2 separate regions of the Homo sapiens genome follow, and region 2 is linked to region 1. Evidence: promoter capture Hi-C in 16 types of primary human blood cells and fetal thymus (Javierre and others, 2016). All regions are on one chromosome and are shown on one strand. The core of a region is centred on a gene start or on the middle of the fragment in contact, and the rest is flanking DNA. Distances in the headings are between cores, read along the strand shown.

What was found. The method cuts DNA at HindIII sites, captures the fragments that hold promoters and counts their contacts. A CHiCAGO score of 5 or more calls a contact.
Region 2: a contact is called between a fragment that was not itself captured here and the fragment with the promoter of TMEM35A in region 1, in 1 of 17 cell types (naive B cells). The highest score is 5.4, in naive B cells.

The regions. Positions count from the first base shown.
Region 1 is chrX:101,074,518-101,081,612 of GRCh38, forward strand. It overlaps TMEM35A (transmembrane protein 35A), which reads left to right and starts at 4,362. Exons shown (of 2, transcript NM_021637.3): 1 at 4,362-4,605. The coding sequence starts at 4,486. The HindIII fragment of the contact is 5,349 bases long and covers 934-6,282 here.
Region 2 is chrX:100,900,983-100,907,329 of GRCh38, forward strand. It overlaps a transcript of XKRX not described here. Among named protein-coding and RNA genes, the nearest start is that of XKRX, 25 kb to the right of the region's middle. The HindIII fragment of the contact is 171 bases long and covers 3,536-3,706 here.

The DNA.
Region 1 (7,095 bases), core at 3,112-5,611:
AACTTCTATAATGTTGATATAATTTAGTGTACATTATCAATAATCATAATTGATATGTAAAATTGTTGTATGCCACAGAAGTAACCAAAATTCCTAGCCAATTGTAGCTTTAATAGTGGCTATAGACTTTTGTCATCCACAGACATTTTGTCTTCCTTTGGTCCTTTTCAAAAGGCAGTTTATAATCAGATATAGGACTCTGAATGCAGGTCTCAGATAACTTTAAAAATTGAGCTATTGGAATAGAGGAAAAACCAATCTTCTAGGACTCTCATGGAGAGCTAATGTATTAAACATTGCTAGACCCTTTGTTTTCAGAGTCAAGAGAACTTATTTCTTTAGAGCTATTTGCAACTGTTAACAAGTGAGTAAAATATACTGCTGTGGACAAAATTTGGAGCATATTTGTTCCTCTCTACCTGATTTCTCCAGAATTTGGAAACTATCTGTGAGTATTCTCAATTTATGGCAGTATAGTTAATTGCATAAATTCAATAAGAATTTGTTTTCTTTTGTAACAGGACACAATTGGAGAAATTGGTTACTTTACCAAGGCTTTGACTGGAATGGCATGCTTCCTTTAAATAATCAAAGTTGACTTATAGAGCAAATTAAAGCCCATTGAGGCATCTGGCCTCATACCTTATCCACACAGAGTCCCTGTGCAAGGTTCCTGTCCTGTGGTAAGTAAAGAATGTCACTTTCTAACAGGCCCAGGAACCCCAAGTTATCTTGGGACCTCAAGAGGAGAGGAATTTGCCCAACTCATAGGTATTTGAGGGTGCAAACCCACGGCTGGGCTCGGCTTTTAAAACATCTTATCTGAGATTCTTCATGGAACAGAGTTCTAGCAAAGCCAATTAAAAAACCCTAAGTGAAAAATATTCTTGCTGCACTTTATGCAAATAATCAGGCCACATACAGTAAGACTAAAGCTTATTTTGTAAACAAATCAGTTCTATCATGTTGTTTTTAATAAAAATGGGGACTGGAGAGAGAAAAATTATGCTTCAAAAAACTATAGTACACTGTTGTTAGCTGTTCTTGAGTTTTTTTCTGCAGTTTAGACTAAATTCTAAATTGTTTGTGGGTTAGAAGTCCCCAAACTAATGCTTTCAAATCTCTGCTTTTAAAATTGGGAATTGTACTCCTCATCCTAGGACTCATTATTTACCTTATAAGGTAAAATAGGCTGTTCACTTAAACACTGTAGTAAAACTATAGATGAGAGTACTAATGTTTTTGCCATACAAGCCTTGGAAGCTCAACCAGGCCGGCATGAGTATGCTCAGACAATTAATTGTAAAGCAGTTCCACTCTTCTCACCTTGGGGTTCACTCCCAATCCCACTACATCCCCTGTCAGCAGGAAGAGGCCAGAGTGATTGATGGCCTTTTCCCATCTTCATAGCCTATACCTTAAGATTAAGGTATTATAAAACCCAAAGGGAGGGATTGAAACCGCCTTTGTAAAATTATGACTGAGAGAGTGAAAGAGATCTAACTTAGCTGACTCCATCTTGCTTCTAACCTCCAAGCTGTTCTTGTTCATTCCTGGGGGTAGGCTGAACTAACTTCGGGAGAAATGTAGTTTATAGTTTATAGTTTAAACAAATATGGTAACAGCCCTTTCCCAAAGCAGACCTCCTTCCTGCCTGGCGACTAGATTGCCTTTGTAGGACTAACATTAGCCACAAGATCAGAAATTATGGTTTAGGGGTCATGCAGCTGGAGGCTATAAGATTCTGAGCCTCCCTAAACTGCTCCAAAGATCAGTGTTTGAGATATTTTGTAGACCCTGCACTTGATAAATCAGCTGGCACCACCCAGATCAATAAACTGGCTCATGTGATCTTATGGCCCCCACCCAGGAACTGACTCAGCACAAGAAAACAGCTTTGACTCCCTATGATTTCATCCTTGACCAATCAGCACTCCTGGCTCACTGGCTTTCCCCGACCTACCAAGTTATCCTTAAAAACTCTGCTCCCCGGCCAGGCATGGTGGCTCACACCTGTAATCCCAGCACTTTGGGAGGCCGAGGCGGGCAAATCACCTGAGGTTAGGAGTTCGAGACCAGCCTGGCCAATATGGTGAAACCCTGTCTCTACTAAAAATACAAAAATTATCCAGGTGTGGTGGCATATGCCTGTAATCCCAGCTACTGGGGAGGCTGAGGCAGGAAAATCACTTGAACCCAGGAGGTGGAGGTTGCAGCAAGCCTAGATTGCACCACTGCACTCCAGCCTGAGCGACAGAGCAAGACTTTGTCTCAAAAAAGCACAACAAAACAAGCAAACAAAAAACTTTGCTCCCCAAATGGTCAGGGAGACTGATTTGAGTAATAAAACTCTGGTCTCCCGCATGTGGGCTCTGCGTGAATTACTCTTTCTCTGTTGCAATTCCCCTGTCTTGATGAATGGGCTCTGTCTAGGCAGCGGGCAAGGTGAACCCCTTGGGAGGTTACAGTTTCACCATGCTGGTCAGGCTGGTCTTGAACTCCTGACTTCAGGTGATCTGCCTGCCTCGGCCTCCCAAATTGCTGAGATTATAGGCGTGAGCCACCACGCCTGGCCATGCATCACATTTTTATTTGTAAAAGTAAAAACCATGGAAACAACATCAATATCTAGCAATAGGATGCAAAATGAATGAGAACTATAGTACATTCAAGTGATGCTAAAGTTTTATACAATCATTAAAAATGATTGTTTAGGGCTGAGCATGGTGGCTCATGCCTGTAATCCCAATGCTTTGGCAGGCCAAGGCAGGAGGATCGCTGGAGCCCAGGAGTTCAAGACCAGCCTGGTTGACATAAGGTAGCCCCATGTCTACAGAAAATAAAAAATAAATTACCCGGGTGTGGTGACACGTGCCTGTAGTCCCAGCTACTTGAGAGACTTGTAGTCCCAGCTACAAGAGAGAGCCTCTCACTTGAGCCCACGAGGTTGAGGTTGCAGAGGGAGACCCTCTGCAGGGTCTCAAAAAAAAAAAAAATCGTGTAGGGCTGGGCTCCGTGGCTCATGCCTGTAATCGCAACACTCTGGGAGGCCGAGGCGGAAGGATCCCTTGAATCCAGGAGTTAGAAATCAGCCTGGACAACATCACAAGGCTCTGACTCCACAAAAAATAAAAAAATTAGCCAGGCATGGCGGCATGTGCCTGTGATCCCAGCTACTCCGGAGGCTGAGATGGAGGATCACTTGAGTGAGACTTTGTCTCTAAACAAAACAAAACTCTGTGTGTGTGTGCGTGAGCATTTACAGTGCTAAACAACTTTAAGTACCACACTAATAGTGAAAAATATTACAGGAGAGGCAGCAGAGCAATTGTTAAGAGCCTGGGCCCTAGAAATGACTGCCTAGGTTTGAGGCCTGGCTCTCCACTTACTAGCTGTATACTCCTGGGCAAGTTACCTACCTTCCCAGCCCCTCAATGTGCCCATTCATAGCATGGGGACTCATACCTAGTCCATAGTGTTGCTGTAAAGATTAAATTAGTTAATACAAGTAGAGGGCAGCGTCTAGCATCTAGTAAACAGTTGACAATTATTGGTTATTGTTATAGAAAATTGGAGGAGGGAGAAATCATATCTAACTGACAATGGATCAGGAAAGGCTTTATAGAGGAGGTGACATTAAAGAAAAGGTTTAATGCTAATGAAGAGTGATGGTGGGGGGCGGGGTCAAAAGATAGGGAGTTAAAGGTAGAGGAGGTGGTAAGGCGTAGGTTGTGTGAGGCCGTGAGTAGATAGATGAGTGGTGGCGTGTGGCAGTGGGAGCCATTGAAAACTAAATCTCCAAAGAGAGACAGGGGTCAAAATGTGGAGGGCCTTGAATTCCAAATTTAAAACTGGAGTTAACCACTGGCTATGAGAGTCATTAAAGATTTCTGAGCAAGAGAAAGAGGAAGCCTTCTTTGGCAGCATTGAAGGCTGACAAATTTGCAGTTTTATCCTTGAGTGTTACGAACTTCAGAAACAACTCTCTGAGGGCTAATATTTTGATTTAGGAAAAGGAAAGGGGGACACAAAGGAAGAGATGGAAAAAGGGAGTGAATAACTGAAGGATGATAAGTGGGAGGGGGAGATGAAAAGTGAGCCCGGTGGGAAGGTGGCAGCAAAGCCTGTCTTCCCTAATTCCTCATTCCTGGGGTCACTTGGTGACTGAACTCATACATAACCTCCCTTCTCCCCATTTAAGATTTGAAGTTTCCGTCTTTCCTTTAGGGCTTCATTTAACTTCGAGACTGTCCTTTTGGCCTGTGAGCACACGTAGGGCATTAGGACCCAGCGTTTGTTGTAGTGAGAGTGGTTGAATCTCGATCTCTCAATTTTTCTCTCGAGCTCCCTCCTCTCCCTTTGTCATTCTAGCTGCCTGCTGCCTCCGCAGCGTCCCCCCAGCTCTCCCTGTGCTAACTGCCTGCACCTTGGACAGAGCGGGTGCGCAAATCAGAAGGATTAGTTGGGACCTGCCTTGGCGACCCCATGGCATCCCCCAGAACCGTAACTATTGTGGCCCTCTCAGTGGCCCTGGGACTCTTCTTTGTTTTCATGGGGACTATCAAGCTGACCCCCAGGCTCAGCAAGGATGCCTACAGTGAGATGGTAAGTGAAGCAAACGGGTGATGAGGAGCGCACTCCCATGGGATTGCGAGGACCTCTCCCCTTTTTTCCTTCTCAGTTTCTGGTCCCACCCCCTTAGCCCCTATCCCCACCTGGACCCTCCGTTCTCAACAACTTTGCAGCTCGGAAGGAGCAGCTGGGCAAGAGCGATTTCTTTTGTGGGCTATGCTGTTCTGGAGCCACTGAATGCCAGTTGGGGGAGGGGTTGCGCAGCGAATACCCCCCATCCCAAGTAAACCAGAAGGCTGAGACCTGCGTAGCACCTGTCATTGGCAGGAGCCCTTCCCTCCTTCCAGCACACACCCAAAGTCCGGGCAACCAGTATACAAGTCTGATTCCCTCCCTGTGAGCTAAGAGTTTAGCAAGCGGAGAGTTTATTTATTTTAGAGCAGAACAAAAGGGAAAGAGGAAAAGAGCTGGGAAAAATGGGCTACTAAAACAAGCAATTTTTAGGGGCTGACTGGTATTCCTCATCCCAGGCAGACAGCTGATAGTATTCCTCCAGCCACCTGGGTATGTATCTGGATCCTTGAGACAAAGCATTCTTGGCCCAAATAAAGGTCACTAAGCTCTTGTTTCTTCCCCTTCTCTCAAGGGAGAGCTAGATGTTTTGTTTTATTTTGTTTTGTGTGTGGGGTAATCTACAAAATCTGCAAAGTCTGCTTTTTCTCTCCCGCAAACAGTCCGTAATCCCCACCTTGCCTTCTGTGGATGACCAGAGCCAGGCCCTCTGCAGGTTTTCCCCTCTGCAGAGTTGGAATCAATCACGGAAGGTGACTGGCCAAAACATCTCCTCTGCAACCTGGGGGCTGGGCTGCTTTCCCCAGTTGGGCGTGATGAGGACTTGCTCTTATGCTGTGGAGTACTAGGAGATGGCAGGGAATGTTTCCAGCACTTTCGGGTCTGTCCCTTCTTCCCCTGTCACTTTGCCTCTTCTTTTCCCCACCCCAGCTGCTTCTCGTCGCCTTTGCCAGACTTCCAATAATGGGAAGGAGCACATCATTGGGCTCTCAAGGTCAAGAGAGAAAGGAGCTTAGGGGAGGAACAGAAGGGGAAAGAGAAAAGAGGCAAGCCCTTTTAGGGCTGAGGCAGGGAGGAACAGCCTCACACATTGCGAGGAATTCATAGCTCTCCTGAACCCACTGCAGAGCTTTCCAGGGCCCCTTAACGTGAGCTGCAAATGGATGGAGACTGGCAAATTATATTAATAGATGCTCAGAAAATGTTTGCAGGCAGCTCTGGCTTCTGTCTCAGGGTTTAAGCTGGAGCTTTCCATTTCTTCCTCACCGCAGGATCACCCTAGGGTTGGGGAGGGTGACAAGGGCTTAGGTCTAGCCCCAGTGGCAAATCCTTACATGCTTCTCCTTCTCCCTTCCCCTCCTCCCAGCATGTTTGACCAGATGGAATTGAAATCAGGTCAAAATGAGTACCCGAGGCAGCCTGCACTGGGAGAAGAGGGACAGGGTGGGGTAGCAGAAGCCACCAAATGGCTTGAAGAGGTTGGGACAGAGGGACAGGGTGGAGGGGAAATGCCATTATATTTCTGTCTTGGTGGTAGCAGTTTGGTGTTAGATTATGAATAAATGAACATGCTCTTGCTTTACTTTTCATATGTACATATATTTATATATTTGTGTGTGTGCATCATAGGTATGTGTAAGCTTTCCCTAGCCTTAGGGACACACTACCTTTCTTCAGTATACTCCCTGCCCTCCAGACCCTAGTCAGCTGCTTCAGAGGCCCCCCCAAGCTGCACCCTAAGTACAGTGTTAGGCTCTGCAGGCAATCCAACTAAGATGGAGTCACCGGGAAGCTTCCTACCAGCTTAGCAGGAGCTCACAAGGAGGACCAGCCACAAATGGGTTTACAGTATGTTTCTTCCTAGAAATGGAGCTGTCTAGTGCAGCCTAATGAAAGGCAGAAGAAACAAATATGAAGATTTCATATCATACATAGGAACATATTTAAATAGATATAGTGTAACACAGCAATATAGAACCATTGTGTGTGGGTGTGTATGCACACTTCTGCACTTCTGTGCTAGGGGCATCTAGAGGGAATGGAAAGATTGTATCTAACTGAGAAGTAGACGTCACAATAGTTTGAAGAGGATTTTCAGACTGCCCTTTTCCAGGGTCCTCTCCTGCATTGAGCATCGGGCCATAGACTGGAGATTGCTCTCTGGCATAAAGCCTACTGCATAGTGCCTGGGCTTGGCCCAGCTTTATTCTCGTTCCCATAGGAAAGGGAGGGAAATTCAGTTCTAGTACAGAGAAGGTGCTCAATATGTATTTGTGGAGTGGTTGGGTGAATGAATGAGTCATTGTAGCATTGCCTTGGCTTGTTACCACCCTTCAGATTTCTCTGTTTGGCTCTTGATTATGCAGTTCAGGAGCCATTTCTTGCCTCTTAGAGGGACTCTCTAAGAAGCCCCTGTCTCTCAGAGGCAGAGTCTCTCAGAACCCCAACCCT
Region 2 (6,347 bases), core at 2,371-4,870, 170 kb before region 1:
GGTTTTACCGTGTTAGCCAGGATGGTCTCGATCTCCTGACCTCGTGATCTGCCCGCCTTGGCCTCCCAAAGTGCTGGGATTACAGGCGTGAGCCACCGCACCTGGCCCACAATCTCCATTTTTAACGAGCTCCTTAAGTAACTCTGATGTACACCAAAGTTGGTGCCATTGGTTTGTGTGTATGTATCTATCTATATACATATGTGTGTATATATCATGTGTCATAAGTGTAAATAATAAAGAAAGAATAATGGGAGAAAAAGCCCCAAATGTAAGCAGTCTATAAGAAATTCACTTTACATTTAAAGAATTAGGTTAAAAATTAAAGAATGAAGATATACCATGCAAACACTAAGCAAAATAAAACTGGAGTAGCTATATTAATTTCAGAAAAAAAGTCTTTGAACAAAAGAGGCATTACATAATAATAAAATGGTCAATTCTCCAGGAAGACATACCATCCTAAACATGCATGCAACAACAGAGCCTAAAAATCCATGAAAGAAAACTAGTAAAACTGATAGGAGACACAGAAAAATCCACAAGTGAGAGATTTCAATACCCTTCTTTCAGTAATTTAAAGATCAGACAGAAAATTAGTAAGATACAGATGACCTTAACAGTACTATCAACCAATTTGACCTAATGGACATTTACAAAACACTTCACCCAACAGCAGCAGAATACATTCTGCCTAAGTGCACATGGAACATTCATCAAGATATCACATTTTGAGGCTGGGCATGACGGCTCACACCTGTAATTCCAATGCTTTGGGAGGCTGAGGCGAGTGGATCACCTGAGGTCAGGAGTTCAAGACTAGCCGGACCAACATGGTGAAACCCTGTCTCTACCAAAAATACAAAATTAGCCAGGCATGGTGGCACATGCCTGTAATCCCAGCTACTTGGGAGGCTGAGGCAGGAGAATTGCTTGAACCCAGGAGGTGGAGGTTGCAGTGAGCTGAGATTGTGCCATTGCACTCCAGCCTGGGCAACAACAGCGAAACTCCATCTGAAAAAAAAAAAAAGATATCACATTTTAGATGATAAAATACACTCAACACATTTAAAAGAATAGAAATCATACAAAATGCATTCTCAGACAAAAAAAAAATTAAGCTAGAAATCAGTAACAGAAAGATAGCTGAAAAGTTCCCAGATATTTGGAAATTAAACAATACAGTTCTAAATAACTCACAGGTCAAAGAATAAGTCTAGAAATTAAAACATATTTTGAACTAAATGAAAATTAAAATACATCTTATCAAAATTTGTGGAATGCAGTGAAAGCAGTGCTGAGGGGGAAAATTATGGCATTATATGCATATATTAGAAATGAAAGATATAAAATGATACCAACTGCCTATAACCTTTCCCAGAAAGTGGAAAAGAATGAAACAATTCCCAACTTATTTTATGAGGCCAGCATTACCGTAATACCAAGTCCAGACAAAACATTACAAGAAAATGACAAATACCTCTCATGAACATAGGTGCAAAAATTCTTAACAAAGTATTAGCAAATTTAATCCAACAATATAAAAAATAATAATATATCAAGAACAAGTGGGATTCATCCCAAGAATGAAAGTCTGTTCTATCATTTATAAATCAATTAATGTAATTCATCATATTAACAGACTAAATAGCAACCATATGATCCTATTAATACATACAGAAAAAAGCTGACAAAATCTAACATCCATGCATGATAAAAATGTTTGACAAACTAGGAATGGAGGGGAATTTCCTCAATTTGATAAAGAACATCTATTTTTTTTTTTTAGATGGAGTCTCGCTCTGTCACCCAGGCTGGAGTGCAGTGGCGTGATCTCGTCTCACTGCAAGCTCCGCCTCCAGGGTTCACGCCATTCTCCTGCCTCAGCCTCCCGAGTACCTGGACTACAGGTGCCCGCCACCATGCCCGGCTATTTTTTTACATTTTTAGTAGAGATGGGGTTTCACTGTGTTAGCCAGGATGGTCTCGATCTCCTGACCTCATGATCCACCCACCTCGGCCTCCCAGAGTGCTGGGATTACAGTCGTGAGCCACCGCACCTGGCCAAGAACATCTATTTAAAAAAAAAAACAAAAAACCTACAACTAACATCATACTTCATGGTGAGAAACTTGGAGCTTTCTGCTAAGATCAGAAACAAGGAAAAAAACAAAAAGACAAATAACAACAAAAAAAGGCAAGAACGTTTCATCTCAGCACTGCATTCCAACATATTGGAAGTCCTAGATAATGCAATAAAGCAAGAAAAGGAAATAAACTGTATATGGATTGGGAAGAAAGAAATAAAAGTGTCTTTGTAGTTAACATAATTTTCTATGCAGAAAATCTGAAATAATTGACAAAAAACTGCTGGAACTGGAACTAATAAACAATTATAGCAGGGTTGCAGGATACAAAATTAATATACAAAAATTAATTGCTTTCCTATATACCAGCAATGAACAAGTAGAATTTGAAATTTATAACAGATCAAGGAGCATGATTGCTGGATTGTATGGTAAGAGTATATTTAGTTTTGTAAGAAACTACCAAATTGTCTTCCAAACTGACTGTACCATTTTTATTCCCACCTTCAATGAAATGGAGTTCCTGTTGCTCTACAGCATTTGGTATTATCAGTGTTTTGGATTTTGGACATTCTAACAGGTGTGTAGTAGTATCTTGTTGTTGTTTTAATTTGCAATTCCTTAATGACATATGATGTCAAATATCTTTTCATATGCACATTTACATTAGCACCCCCCAAAATAAAATACTTAAGTATAAATTTAACAAGATAAGTACAAGTTCTATATAAAGAAAACTACAAAACTTTGATGGAAGATATCAAATAATAACTAAATAAATGAAGAAATAGTCCATGTTCATGGATAAGAAGAATCAATATTGTCAAGCTGTCAGTTCTTCCCAAATTCTTCTATAGCTTGAATACAATCCCAATCAAAATCCCAGCAAATTATTTTGTGGATATCAATAAACTGATTCTAAAGTATTTATGGAGAAGCAAAAGGCCCAGAATAGCCAACTTGGTATTGGAAAGGAAGAACAAAGAGGTTGACGCTACCAAATTTCAAGACTTACTATAAAGCTACAGTAATCAAGACTGTGTGGTATTGGTGAAAGGGTAGACAAATAGATCAATGGGACAGTAGAGATAGCCCAGAAATAGACTCACATAAATAGTCAACTGATGTTTGGTAAAGGAGCAAATGCAATACCATGGAGCAAAGATGGTCTTTTCAACAAATAATACTGGAATAACCAGACATACACATGCAGAAACAAACAAACAAACAAACAAAAAACAAAAAAAACACCCAGACCTTACACCCTTCAAAAAATTAACTCGAAATGGATCAGAGACTTAAATGTAAAACACAAAATGATAAAACTCCTAGAAGATAACATAGGAGAAAATCTAGATGACATTGGATATGATGATGACCTTTTAGATACAATACCAAAGGTATGATCCATGGAATAATTGATAAGCTGGACTTCATTAAAATTAAAAAGCTTTCAACTTCATTCTTAATTAAATAAGTTCCTGCTTTCCTGCTCTGGTGCTGAATTCCTGGCTTGGCGCCCTAAGCACATGATTCTTCCATGCCACTCCCAGGGAAGTTCAAGTTTTCTGACCTGGCTATGCCTGTTTAATCCTACTCTCCTGGCTGGGAGACAAGGAAGCTTGTCCAGCAGGTGTTGATACCTGGGGGTTGAGGCTGGCAGAAGGAAGGTCTTATGGGTAAGTGAGCCAATCCGATGGAGAAGAGCAAGTTGGAAAATCAAGTGAGGCAGGTAGAAGTTGGTAAACCAGAGAAGCAGAGCCAAACGGGTCAGGAAAGGAAGAAGGGCTGGAGCCCAAAGCCAAGAATATAAGCACATGGAGGGCAGGGAACCATATAGAGAAGGCTAAACCATGAGCTGGTTTGGATAAATATTGGAAACAGACGCCTTTTGCCTGTTTTCTGTGTGATGTATGAATAGATCTGCCCCAATTTAAAGAACCAACAATGAGTATAAAATGCTCACTGACTTCAGTCCTACCCAGTCCAGACCATGGGTCCCAACATCTATGGGAGGTAGTATAGTAAAATGGAAAGAATATGAGCTTTGGAATAAGACCAGGGCTTAAATTCTGGCTCTTTGTCTTAGTAGCTGTGTGACCGTGGGCAAGTTACTCTCAGCTTCAGCTTTTTTATATGAAAAAGAGAGACAGAATCTACCTCACAGAGTCATTGTGATGATAAAATGAATCTATATTAATGATCCAAGATGGCCCTTGGTATCTCATAAGCACTCAACAGATGATAGCCCTCTTCCTTCAAAGGCATCTATCATAACTGGCCTTGTATTTCTATTTAGTTGAATGAAGCATGTCTCTATCTTTAGCCAGATCTTAAACTTGTTGAGGGCACACACTGTGTGTGAATCATTTTCATACATATTTACTTTTTAAAGCAATGTATTTTTCTGATTACAAATATCGTGTAAATTTATACAAAATCTAAATGTTGCAAAACACTAAACACAGGAGAAATCTCTAGTATTCTCTCCCACCTTCCCAAACAGAACTGCTGAAAAAAGCTTGAAACATTTTCCTCTACCCCCCCATATTGTTGGTTTTGTATTTTACAAAAATGGGATCATTGTTAACATATGATTCTCAAAATAAATCTAAAACAAATAAACATAAGTTTCATACAAATAGAGAATTCATATGTATCAAAGATTTATTTAACTCATTGAGGAGGAAACCAGTAAGGTGGCAGCCAACTCAAAAGAGGATATGAAAACAGGTATTTTATATATAGTCAGTAAAAACACCAAAGGAATGCTAAAATAAGATTGCTAAATTAGAATCAAAGCTGGTTAATGTTCTACAGGGCAATAAGAACCAAAATAGTGGTGTCTTTTAAAAAATAATTTAATGAACATATAGTTTAAGATATAGTTTCATTTCTACAAAGATGCATTTAAAATTACAATTTTAGAGCCAAGACAGTTCTATTAAATCAATTGTCAATATTAACATAATTGATTGTTTCATCCAATAATGTTATATTCCAGGTTTTTCTTTTAAAAAAGACTACTTTTAAGAGCAGTTTTAGGTTCACAGCAAAACTGAAAGGAAGGTAGGAAGATTTTCCATATATCCCCTCCCCCCACAAGTGCATAGCCTCCCTCTTCATCAACATCCCTCATCAGAGTAGTGCATTTGTTACAATTGATGAAGATACATTGACACATCATAATCACCCAAAGTTCATAGTTTACATTAAGGTTCACTCTTGATGTTGTACATTCTATGGGTTTGGACAAATATGTAATGATATGTACCCACCAATGTAGTATCCTACAGAGTAATTTCACTGCCCTGAAAAATCCTCTGTGCTCCACTTATTCATCCCTCCCCTTCTCCCTGTGGTGTCTTCTTTAGGTGGACAGAAAACAATGTCACTGCATCTTGCCAGTTTTACAGAATTGTAAAATCACTGGAATCTCATCAATTGTGTTAAATTGCAATTATCTAGACCTAGAGAGTCAGATGACCCTCAGAGAGGCCTGTTAAAAAAATTATCTTAACATGACATTAAAGCATCAAGTAGTCATCTTTCCTTTTGTATTTGTTTCCTAGTGCTGCTGTAACAAATTACCAAAAACTAGGTGGCTTAAAACAACACACATTTATTCTCTTAACAGTTCTGGAGATCAGAAGTTAGAAATCTGTTTCACAAGGGCTGAAACAGCCATGTCAGAAGGGCCATGTTCCTTTTGGAGGTTCTATGAGAGAATATTTCCATGCTTTTTCCAGCTTCTGAAGCTGCTTTCTCGCATTCCTTGGTTCGTGGCCTCTTCCTCCATCTTTAAAACCAACAGCATAGCATCCTCAAATCTCTCTGCCTCCATCTTCGCATCACCTTTTCTCTTATAAGGATCCTTGGGATTACACCAGGCACACCTGGATAATTCAAGGTAACTCCCCTATTTCAAGGTAAACTGATTTGCAACCTTAATTCCCCCAGCTATGTAACATAACATATTCACAGGTTCTGAGGAGCAGGACATGGAGATCTTAAGTAGGGGTAGTCATTATTCTTCCCGTCTTACTCTTGCTTCCAAATTTTGAATGATTTTTTATAGCCTCATCTTAGACATTTTATTCTTCAACTTGCTTTTGTCACTTAAAAAATTTTTTTTTTAGTTTTTGAGACAGGGTCTTGCTGTGTCACCCAGTCTGGGGTGCAGTGGTGCGATCATGGCTCACTGCAGCCTCAATCTTCTGATCTCAAGTGATCCTCCCACCTCAGCCTCCCAAGTAGCTG